Regions from separate parts of the Homo sapiens genome. Here region 2 is linked to region 1. The links are contacts of gene promoters, found by promoter capture Hi-C in human tissues and cell types (Jung and others, 2019). All regions are on one chromosome and are shown on one strand. Each heading gives the region's core, a stretch centred on a gene start or on the middle of the fragment in contact. The rest is flanking DNA. Distances are from core to core; before and after follow the strand shown.

Region 1 (5,925 bases), core at 807-3,306:
TCCAGAGACTCCATTTCCCACCATTCCAGGATGCGGGAGGGGCTGAGAACGCTTTCATTCTACTTCTAAGTATTTCCGGGGGAGGAAGAGACACATACAGACACAGGAACTCTGTTTCCCAGCGCCTTTTGGGGGCTACTCTCCTTCGGGTATTAATCGATAAATAGGACGACTCACTGAGTACACAAAACCTGAGGCAGCTGGCTTCCTTATTTTTGGCTTTCCGGGATCTTGTAATTTAGGAAGCGGAGGATGCAAAACACAAGAGTGGGAGGCCCGGTGCCGTGGCTCAAGCCTGAAATACCAGCACGTTGGAGGCTGAGGTAGAATCGCTTGAGCCCAGGAATTGGAGACCAGCCTGGGCAACATGGCGAAGCCCACCCCGCTACCCCCCACCACCCCAAAAAACAAACCAAACCAAATTAGCTGGGCGTGATGGTGCACGCCTGTAGTCCCACCTACATGGGAGGCTTAGGTGGGGGGATTGCTTGAGCCTGGGAGTTAGAGGCTGCAGTGACCTGTGATTGCGCCACTGCCCGCCAGCCTGGGCGGCAGAGCGAGACCCTGTCTCAAAACAAACCAAAAACTGAAAACTGAATGGTGGTTCAAGACAGGATTTTTTTTTTTTTGAGACGGAGTCTCACTCTTTTCGCCCAGACTGGAGTGCAGTGGCGCGATCTCGGCTCACTGCAACCTATGCCTCCCGGGTTCAAGCGATTCTCCTGCTTCAGCCTCCTGAGTAGCTGGTATTACAGGCGCCCGCCACCACACCCGGCTAATTTTTGTACTTTTAGTAGAGACGGGGGTTTCGCTATGTTGGCCAGGCTGGTCTCGAACTCCTGACCTCGGATGATCCGCCAGCCTCGGCCTCCCAAAGTGCTAGGATTACAGGCGTGAGCTACTGGCGCCCAGCCTGAGCCACAGCGCCAGGCCCAGAAATGACATTTCCGTCTTTTTAATGCTCCATTCAGCTTCCTGGTGCGAACCACATTGCTAGGAAAAGCTAGACTGTATCCGAAGACTAGTTAGTGTTCTGAGAAACCGCCGGGAACTTTGTTTCCCGAATCTTTGCAGAGTTGCGGTTAGAGAGGGGACATTTTTTCTTTCCTGATCTATGGTCACCTGGAACTTAAAGGTGCTTGGATCCATTTTCCAGCAGTCCTTGATCGACCTCGGCTCTTTCTTAAAGAAGGACCTGGGGGCGAGGAAGGAGGCGCTGAAACACTTTTAAGTCTCTCCAGGGAACTGCCGCAGTCTCTAACCTTTCGTTCACACGCCCCTGATGGTGGCCATTGGACTTCGCTTCCCGGCAAGCCTCCGCAGACTGGCCTCACAGAGGGTCAGGTCTGGACTATTCCCCAGCATGCTTGGAGCTCATGGGCGATCCCGCCCCCTCAGTCAATGGGGAGGATACGTCGAACTCCATTTCCCAGAACACACCAGGGCTCGCTGTGGCAACTGCACTGAGGCCTTGGTGCTGACTACACTTCCCGGCAGGGACTGCGGCCCAGCGTACCTGGAAAGAGGAGCGCGTAAACCTACTCCATTTCCTCGCCCATCTCCGGAACTGCAGTATCCACCTGGGGCTTAAAAACCACCTGAGACTCCATTTCCCGGCGTGCTTTAAAAATCGCTTTACACCTGCAATGCGGTGAGGGCGTGGCGACGACTCCATTTCCCGGCTTGCCTCACGGCCCGAGACCCGCAGGTTCACGCGGGCCGACTCAATTTCCCAGAGCGCACCGAGCTCTGGGAGGCATACACAGCTAATAGACTGAGTGAGTGGACTCCGTTTCCCAGCGTGCATCAGGCTCTCTGCTTCCTAAAGTGCTTCAGGGCTCCCCGTCGTACAGTCGGCTGACAGATTACCCTGGACTCCATTTCCCGACGTACAGCGTGACCCGTCATTCCCGCCCATCATTCCCGCGGTCTACTCTGAGGCTTTTGTGGACTTCATTTCCCGGCGTGCCACGCGGCTCTCTGTGCGGGCCGAGGGCGGTGACGGCGGCGCGGACGACAGCCGGACTGCATCTCCCGGCGTGCCCCGCGGCGGGCGCTGGGCCGGAGCCGGAGCCCAAGCCAGAGCGGCGCGGCCTGGAAGAGGCCAGGGCCCGGGGGAGGCGGCGGCAGCGGCGGCGGCTGGGGCAGCCCGGGCAGCCCGAGCCCCGCAGCCTGGGCCTGTGCTCGGCGCCATGAGCGGCGGCGGGCCTTCGGGAGGCGGCCCTGGGGGCTCGGGCAGGGCGCGGACTAGCTCGTTCGCGGAGCCCGGCGGCGGAGGCGGAGGAGGCGGCGGCGGCCCCGGAGGCTCGGCCTCCGGCCCAGGCGGCACCGGCGGCGGAAAGGCATCTGTCGGGGCCATGGGTGGGGGCGTCGGGGCCTCGAGCTCCGGGGGTGGACCCGGCGGCAGCGGCGGAGGAGGCAGCGGAGGCCCCGGCGCAGGCACTAGCTTCCCGCCGCCCGGGGTGAAGCTGGGCCGTGAGTACTAGTGGCGCCCGTGTAGGGTGGTGATTAGGGTTCCCAAAGCTCCTCAGACATCCATCAGATTCTTTCATGTGCTTAGATAGGAGCTCGAGGTCACTGTGCCTCCCCATACCGGGGATCCGAGCCCTCTTCCTCCCAGGAAAAGGAGTCTTGGGGTTACCATCTCTTGGAGATCAGAATTACTCGTGGATCAGAATTACTAACACTTAAAGAAACGGGTTACAAGTCTCTGTTCTTCCATTATTGAGGTCTTGGGTCCTTGAGCCTTAAGAACAGGTATCTGATGTTGCTATTCATTATAATATTGGATCAGAGGTCACAGTCGCTTGCAAATGGGGATCTAGGGTTATTGTCTCCTAAGAGAACAAGAATAAGACCAACCCCGAAAAAGAGGGATCTGCATTCCCTGTCCTTCAGAAGATGGGGATTTGGAGCGAATATCACTTAGAAGCAGGGCTTTGAGGTTACTGTGTTTTGTCCCCAAAGAATAGGGCCAGGCTTTCCAAACCTGGTACTCAGATCATCTTCCCTATTAAAACCAAGACCTGGCATCATTACCCACCCTAAATCTTGTTGAGCTGTACTGCCAATGGTGAGAATTAATAGTTACTGCCTTTTAGATATAAAGACATTGGGAGTCAGCATATCCTTCAAACCAAGTCCATAGTCCATGTTTTAAAATACATGGCTTGGTGTGTCTCCTTTAACAAAAATGGAATGGAGCAGGGTAGGTCACAGTTTCCTACAGAATATGGATCTAAGGTTATACTTTTTTAATAATTGTTCTAAGGTATGGTGTCATTGGCTCTGAAAAAAAAAAGTGATGTAGGGTTATCTCCCTCTGAAAGAACTTGTCACTGGCCCCTCAAAATGGATTTGGTGGCCGGGCGCGGTGGCTCACGCCTGTAATCCCAGCACTTTGGGAGGCTGAGGTGGGCGGATCACCTGCGGTCAGGAGTTCGAGACCAGCCTGGCCAACTGGTGGAACCCTGTCTCTACTAAAAATATAAAAAATTAGCTGGGCGTGGTGGCGGGCGCCTGTAATCCCAGCTTCTCGGGAGGCTGAGGCAGGAGAATCGCTTGAACCCAGCAGGCGGAGGTTGCAGTGAGTCGAGATCGTGCCACTGCACTCCAGCTGGGCAACGAGAGCGAAACTGTGTCTCAAAAAAAAAAACAAAAAAATGGATTTGGTTCATCAGTTACTCAAAGGGGTCACTATCCTCTAAGAATGGCACCAAGGTTTGCCACCATTTGAATAATGGGAATTGGGAATTATAGCTTTCCTTCAAAGGACTGAGGCTGGAATAGCTCCTTGATAATAAAGGTCAGGTTCATCATTATCATAATTTGGTGCTTGTCCATTAGGGACCACCCACATATAGTGAGGGGTCTGGGTCTCTGGACCACTCAGATGAAGAGGTCAGGTCAGTGTTTTTTTCTAACCTCAAAGTACCAAAAAGTGAGGGTCAGGGCACTGGCACTTATAGCAGGAGAGGACATTCATTTCTGTCACCAAGAACCAGTAAAGTTACCAGCTCTACAGGGGAGGACTTAGAGGTCAGTATCCTCTAGGCTGTGAGAGAGGTTAGTGCTTTCCTAAAGTAGGAGTACCTCAGGGTTACTGCTCCCTGAAGTGGAAGAGGCTCGGTCAAGCTTTCTCCAAATAGGAGGGGCCAGAGGGCAGTAGATCCAGAGTAGATGGAGTCAACATCTGATGTCTCCCAGTACCAAGATGGACCAGTGATCTGTTGCTTCCTAGAAGTAGAAATTTGGGGTTGCCAACCCTTGAAGCAGAGAGATTTAGGTATCAATATCCTCCTATGTGGAGGGGAGCAGGACTTAAGATTCCCAGAAAGGAAGAGGGGAAAAGTCACTGGGAAGGTCCCAGCATCCACCTTTCCTCAAAGAGGAGGAGGGGACAAAGAGGTCCCCAACGAGCTTCCTGCAGAGATTTCCCTTCCTCCCACAGCCCCAGGATAGGGTGATGCGCAGGCAGGATGGGTCAGTGGATCGTGTATCCCCTTTGTTCCCCAGGTGACAGCGGGAAGGTGACCACAGTCGTAGCCACTCTAGGCCAAGGCCCAGAGCGCTCCCAAGAAGTGGCTTACACGGACATCAAAGTGATTGGCAATGGCTCATTTGGGGTCGTGTACCAGGCACGGCTGGCAGAGACCAGGGAACTAGTCGCCATCAAGAAGGTTCTCCAGGACAAGAGGTTCAAGGTAGCTTGGGCGGGATGGGGACAGGGAGGTTTGGGGACTGGGTGTGACTGGTGGGAGAACCTGAGCCAGAGAGCTGGAGGCTTGGGTTTCAGAGCCATGGGCCAGAAGAGAAGGGGGAAAAGAGGAAATGAGACCTGTGAAAGATGGGAAATGTGGATCCCAGGAGAGCCCAGAGCTTTTACTGGGCATTTGCTCAATGTAAGTGCTTAATAAGCAAATTCTTGTTTAATTTACATAAAGATTCTCTGAGGGTAGGTACTGTGGTTATACCCATTCTAAGTGTAAGCTAAGTTTAAAAGCAGGGAAACAAACTCAGGTAAGAGGATTGCCTGAGGTCATAGAGCAAGTGCCCCAGTCAAGGCTGGAATCTGATTCCCAAACCCTCTACCTTAACCATTTGGTTACACTTCTTCCCAGGAGAGAAAGGGACCTGGCAGGGCTAGCGCGGGTGGTTCTGAAGGTCGCGCTCTTCCCAGGTGTTTGGCCAGCGCAGAATGGAATGGAGGTGCCCTGTGAGCTAGGAGAGGCTCAGGGAACTAGAAGGAGATGGAGGAAGTGGAAGTTGAGGAATAATTGGTGTTTAAGGGCCTGGCATTTGGAGCTTAGACTAGTCTGGATGTAGGAGAACTGAGCCTAGACTGGAAAGGAACCAGACCAGGGCCTCGGTCTTGGCAGGGAGGGCCCTTGGGCAGGAGGAGCTCCAGGGTGTCAGAATTTGATTGGAGTTGAGTTCCAGAAGTAAGAGGGATGTAGGGGCAGGGAGTTCCTAGGCCTCACTGAGGAATAGAGAATGGGGAAGAATGCTGAGACCGCATTCTGGGAAAAGTCCAATGCCTGGAGTCTGGGACTCAGGATCCTAGATAGAGTTCGAGGACCCAGATGCTTCCACGGGACCAGAGTGAGCTGGATGGCCACTACCTGTCTGTTGTTGCTTGTGCCAGGTAGGGGGGCAAGCCTCATGTGCCCATGCCTGATTTTTTTTTTTTGAGATGGAGTCTTACTCTGTCACCCAGGCTGGAGTGCAGTGGCACGATCTTGGCCCGCTACAACCTCTGCCTCCCAGGTTCAAGCGATTCTTGTGCCTCAACCACCTGAGTAGCTGGGATTGCAGGCATGGGCCACTATGCCTGGCTAATTTTTTTTTTTTGTATTTTTAGTAGAGACAGGGTTTTGCCATGTTGGCCAGGCTGGTCTCGAACTCCTGACCTCAAGTAATCCGCCC
Region 2 (6,077 bases), core at 1,897-4,396, 1.4 Mb before region 1:
ACTCCAGCCTGGATGACAGAGCGAGACTCTATCTCAAAAGAAGATGGAGAAAAATCAAGCAGAGTAAGGGGCGTAGGGAGTGCTGGGGAGTGGCCAGGGCGTCACTGAGAAGGTGACACTTGAGAAGAGACATGGAATGGAGAGTGACATCGGCAGAAAGGGTGGCAAAGACCCTGAGGCAGGTATGGGCCTGGGGTGTTGGAAGGTGAGGAGCCTGGTATGAAGAGCCTGTGGCCACTGTGATGACAGGAGCAAGGGCGGAGCACAGGGTGCAGTAGCAGGATCCTCTGGGTTCTGGGAGAAACTGAGGAATGGGGCTGGGATGGATACAAGGTGAGGCTTTTGGCAGGCTCCTACCACCAAGGCCGAAGAAGCTGGTACTTCCCACACCGTGGTCACAGGGACCCCATCCCCAACCATTACTCTGTGTGTGCGCCCCCATAATGGCAGCTGATGTCGCCCTTTTCCGTATATCAACTATAAATTTTTCCCCTTTTCTTTTTTTTTTTTGGGAACGGAGTCTTGCTCTGTCACCCAGGCTGGAGTGCAGTGGTTCAATATTGGCTCATCGCAACCTCCGCCTCCCGGGTTCGAGCAATTCTCCTGCCTCAGAGTCCTGAGTAGCTGGGACTATAGGCACCCACCACCCCACACTTGGCTAAATTTTGTATTTTTAGTAGAGACGGGGTTTCACCATGTTGCCCAGAGTGGGTCATGAACTCCTGAGTTCAGGCAATCCGCCCACCTCAGCCTCCCAAAGTGCTAGATTACAGGCCTTTTTCTTTAAACCTAAACTTGTCCTAGGCCTGTCCTTGATAACTGTGAAATCACAGTAATATATCTTACCTATAAATAAATGTTTTAATTCACCTAACTCTCTCTCTCTCTCTCTCCATGGCCACAGATATAAAAGTACATCTGTGTGTATGCATGTGTTTTAATTTGCACAAATACCTTTTCAAATGGTTGTCTCCCTAAAATGATCCAGTGTCAGCCATGGCCCAGGTTCAGCTTTTCCTGCCAGAGCTGTGTAACCACAGGGGAGTGAGTCGTCTAGCCTCCCTGTGCCTCAGTTTCCACATCCATCAACTGGGGATAGTAATAGTACCACCCTCAAAGGGTTGTTGAGGATTTAGTGAGTTAATGTATAAGAACAGGGCTCCTACAATAGCAAGGATGCTGTTGTTACTGGTGGGTTTTTACTACTCCGGCTTTGTCCTTCCTAAATGCCTCCCACCCCACCTCCCCATGGAGTTTTTGTTTTCTTTTGCAATCAATCGAAAGAATCAAATAATTTTTTTTTTTTTTTTTTGCTTTTTTCTAAGACAGCAGAGTCTTGCTCTGTCACCCAGGCTGGAGTGCAGTTGTGTGATCTCGGCTCACTGCAACCTCCGCCTCCTGGGTTGAAGCAGTTCTCCTGCCTCAGCCTCCCGAGTAGCTGGGATTACAGGCGCCCGCCACCACACCCAGCTAATTTTTGTATTTTTAGTAGAGACGAGGTTTCACCATGTTGGCCAGGCTTGTCTTGAACTCCTGACCTCATGATCTGCCCACCTTGGCCTCCCAAAGTGCTAGGATTACAGGAGTAATCTACCGCGCCCGGCCAAAAAAATTCTTTTTAAGTGGTGAGGTCTCACTCTGTCACCCAGGCTGGAAGGGAGTGGCGCAATCATGGCTCAAATGCAGCCTGGAACTCCTCGGCTCAAGTGATCCTCCCGCCTCAGCCTCCCGAGAAGCTGGTACTACAGGTAATGCATCACCAGGCCTGGCTAATTTTTTAATTTTTTGTAGAGACGGAGTCTTGCTATATTGCCCAGGCTGGTCTCAAACTTCTGGGCTCAAGTGATCTTCCCACCTTGGCCACCCAAAAGTGCTGGGATTACAGGCATAAGCCACTGTGCCCAGTCCTGTCCCATGCAGTTCTTGGAAGACATTCATTTGCTTGACACAAAGATACAGGGAATCTACTGGGTGCCAGTCTTGTTCTGTGCCATGGGGACTCATCTGTGGGGAAGGGAAGGGTAGTGTCTAGGCTATCCTTGTCATACTATGGCAAGTCTGAATGTGGGGATTCAGGGAGGGGACAGCTTGGCCTAGCCCTCTTTCCTCTGATACCACTGTCTTCCCCTGTCTGTCCCCCTCCAGGCCCCGAGCATTCCTCTGATTCAGAATACACTCTCTCAGAGCCGGACTCCGAAGAGGAAGAAGATGAGGAGGAGGAGGAAGAGGAGACCACTGACGATCCTGAATATGATCCTGGCTACAAGGTGAAGCAGCGCCTTGGCGGGGGCCGTGGTGGCCCATCCCGCCGGGCCCCCCGTGCAGCCCAGCCCCCGGCCCAGCCTTGCCAGCTCTGTGGCCGCTCACCCCTTGGGGAGGCCCCACCGGGAACCCCACCCTGCCGGCTCTGCTGCCCTGCTACAGCCCCCCAGGAAGCACCAGCCCCTGAAGGCAGGGCCCTCGGGGAGGAAGAGGAGGAACCACCTCGGGCTGGGGAGGGCCGACCAGCTGGGCGGGAGGAGGAGGAGGAAGAGGAGGAGGAGGGAACCTACCACTGTACGGAATGTGAGGATTCCTTCGACAACCTGGGGGAGCTGCACGGGCACTTCATGCTGCATGCCCGGGGTGAGGTGTAGGCAGAGCCCCCATACGGGGAGCTTGGCAGAAGGGGTGGGGTGGGAGGAGGGGGCTGAGGAAATTGGGGTTGTGACAGTGGTCATGGGGGATGGGGTACTGCCGGTCTGTGTTGTCTTAGAAGTAGATGTGTGATGGCCAGAATAAAAGCCAAAATCTGTATCTGTGTGTGTTGGTTCAGAGTGTGTGTGTGTGTGTGTGTATTCCCGCCCGTGTGTGTGTTTGTGTGTGTGTGTGTGTGTGTGTATTCCCCCTGGGCTCCTTCTTGGGGAACCTTGGGGTCTTTTGGGAAAGATAACATTTACTGCGTGCTTGTATTCGATGAGGTTTCCATGTATTTACTTACAGACCCCATAATGTAAAGGCTCTAATAATAGAATTTTGTTTCTCACTCACAAAATGGTGCTGGGTGAGTCATTTGGGGACCCAGGCCATCCCTTAAGCCTGTTGTCTCCCCCATGGTCCAGACTGGGTGGCCATAGCCTGGGTCCTGCTGGCAGAAGAGGACAGGATGCCTGGTGAGGTGCACGTGTTGTCTTACAAGCCCTGGCCTGCCAGGGGCACACACTGCTTCCATTGACACGCCTTTGCTGAGAAATTAGATATGTGGCCGCAGCTAACTGCAAAAACAACCTGGGAGAAGCAGTCTAGCCAAGCGCCCAGAAAGCAGAAAACAGTTCATGGAGGACAGCTAGGGCTTTCTGCCACATAGCCTAGGAACTTCCACAAAGAGGACTTTAATTATAATCACAGCTACGCTTTCTCAGCGCTTCCTGGGTATCTGGTGCCAGTCCAAGGGCTTTATATATATTGACTCATAGAAATGGTGCATCTAGGAACTTACAAAAATAGAACCTTAATGATAATTGCAGCTGCCATTTTCCCAGCACTTACAGAGTGCTGTACTTAATTTGCATGAGATTATCAGCTTCTTAGAATAACCCTGTGAGACAGGGATTGTGATCCATTAATTCATTTAACAAATATTTTTGAGTACCTGCTGTGTGCTAAGCATTGGGAACACAGCAGTGAATAAAATAAAATCGTTGTCCTCATGGAGCTTACATGGGAGTGGGTAGAGGCTGCTGGTGAAGACAGACATAAACAAGTAAGATACAGCATATGCCGGGTGCTGATAAATGCTGTGAGAACAATAAAGCACTGAAAGGAGGCCCGGCATGGTGGCTCACTCCTGAAATCCCAGCACTGAGGTGGGTGGATCGCTTGAGCCCAGGAGTTTGAGACCAGCCTGGGCAGCATGCCAAAACCCCATCTCTACAAAATACAAAAAATTAGCTGGGCTAACGATGGTACACGGCTATAGTCCTAGTACTAGGGAGGCTTAGGTGGGAGGATTGCTGGAGCCTAAGAAGTGTCGCTGCACTCCAGCCTGGGCAACAGTGAGACCCTGTCTCAAAAAAAAACCACACACACACACACACACACAAAAAAAAAACTGAAGGAAGGCCAGGTGCAGTGGCTCACACCTATAATTCCAGCACTTTGGGAGGCCGAGGTGGGAAGATTTCTTGAGCCCAGGAGTTGAAGGCCAGCCTGGGCAACACAGTGAGACCCCATCTACAAAAAATTAAATTAGCTGGGCTTGGTGGTGCATGCCTATGGTCCCAGCTATTCAGGATCACTTGAGGCTTGGAGGTTGAGGCTGGAGTGGCCTGTAATTGTGCCACTGTGCTCACTGCACTCTAGCCTGGATGATGGCAGGAATTTGTTGCAAGAAAAAAATTTAAAAAAGGACTGAAGGGAGAACTGTTCTGGAAGGAGGTTGCAATTTTAAAGAGTATAGTCCTCCCTGAGAAGGTGACAGATCTGAAGCCGGGGGGAGCCATGTACATCAATGGGGAAGAGCACTTCAGGCTGGAGGAGGCAGGAGCCTGCCTGGTGTGCCAAGGAGGCGAGAGCTGTAGGGATGAGGTCAAAGGGTAGCAAAGGACCAGCTCTTTACAGCCTTGCCAAAACTTGGGCTCAGAGATGGGAAGTACTAATTCGTAATTCACAGAAGCTTGGCGCCGAAGCTACTTTGAAAATAGAAGCCTAATTATAATAATAGCTATCATTTACTGAGAATTTACTGGGCAACCAGCCCTGTTCTAAGGCGCTTTACATGTGTTAACTCATAGAAGGTTGGAGACTAAGAACCTTCAAGAATAGAACCTGAATTACTGTAATGGCCATCATTAAGTCAGCGCTCACGGTGGACCAGGCCCTGGGCTCAGTGCTTTATGTGGACAGTCACATCAGATCCTTACAAGTTAGGGACTGTTACTTGTTTACTCATTCACCCAACAATGATTTATTGAGCACCTATGAGATGGCAGGCACTGCTCTGGGAGTTGGAAATATAGCAGTCAACACAATGAACAAAAACCCCCTCCCTTTGTGGAGGTTATAATGGGGAAGACAGTAATCAAGTATTTAAGTAAAATATACAAATTGTGGCTGGGCGCGGTGGCTCATGCTTGTAATCCCAGCACTTTGGGAGGCCGAGGCGGGCGGATCAAGAGGTCAGGAGATTGAGACCACGGTGAAACCCCGTCTCTGCTAAAAATATAAAAAATTAGCTGGGCATGGTGGCGGGCACCTGTAGTCCCAGCTACTCGGAGAGGCTGAGGCAAGAGAATGGCATGAACCCGGGAGGCAGAGCTTGCAGTGAGCTGAGATCGCGCCACTGCACTCCAGCCTGGGCGACAGAGCGAGACTGTCTCAAAAAAAAAAAAAAAAAAAATACAAATTTTATGGAATGTTAGTCATAAGTGCTATGGAGAAAAAGGAACAGGGTGGGAAGCTTGTGTGTGTGAAGGTTGCAGTTTTAAGTAGGGTGGTCAAGGAAGGCTTCACTGAGATGACATCAGAGCAGAGACCTAGAGAAGGGGCAGGAGTGAGCCTTGTGGCTGTCTGTGGGGACAGTAAATGCAATGGCCCGAGGTGGGAGCCCACTTGGGGTGCTTGGGAAGAGAACACAGGGCCACGAGGCTGGAACTGAGGAAGACAGGTAAGAGGTGAGGTCAGAAAGTAGCGGAGAACCAGGCCGTAAGAGCCATATACTGACTTTGGCATTGTCTCCAAGTCTGAGTCCTCACAGTAATCTGAGTGCTCATAATAATCCTTAGAGGCTACCTTTATGACTATTTTATAACTGCTACAACAGGCCAGGCATGGTTGCTCATGCCTGTAATCTCAGCAGCTTGGGAGGCCAAGGCAGGTGGATTGCCTGAGGTCGGGAGTTTGAGACCAGCCTGGCCAACATGGTGAAACCCCATCTCTACTAAAAATACAAAAACTTAGCTGAGTGTGGTGGTGCGTGCCTGTTGTCCCAGCTACTTGGGAGGCTGAGGCAGGAGAATCGCTCGTACCTGGGAGGCGGAGGTTGCAGTGAGCCCAGATTGCACCACTGCACTCCAGCCTGGGCAATAGAGCAAGACTCC

What was found. The method cuts DNA at HindIII sites, captures the fragments that hold promoters and counts their contacts. A contact is called where the count stands out against the background at its distance.
Region 2: a fragment that was not itself captured here is called in contact with the fragment with the promoter of GSK3A in region 1 in 1 of the 25 tissues and cell types used here (dorsolateral prefrontal cortex).

What each region holds. Positions count from the first base shown.
Region 1 is chr19:42,238,733-42,244,657 of GRCh38, reverse strand. GSK3A (glycogen synthase kinase 3 alpha) reads left to right here and starts at 2,056. Exons shown (of 11, transcript NM_019884.3): 1 at 2,056-2,475; 2 at 4,516-4,703. The coding sequence starts at 2,193. RefSeq lists enhancers at 315-374, 1-770, 1,385-1,434, 771-1,565, 1,495-1,704 and silencers at 1,995-2,204, 2,235-2,514. The HindIII fragment of the contact is 9,309 bases long and covers 1-5,925 here.
Region 2 is chr19:43,604,176-43,610,252 of GRCh38, reverse strand. ZNF428 (zinc finger protein 428) reads left to right here. Exons shown (of 3, transcript NM_182498.4): 3 at 2,146-3,029. The coding sequence ends at 2,636. Among named protein-coding and RNA genes, the nearest start is that of SRRM5, 4.9 kb to the left of the region's middle. The HindIII fragment of the contact is 8,844 bases long and covers 1-6,077 here.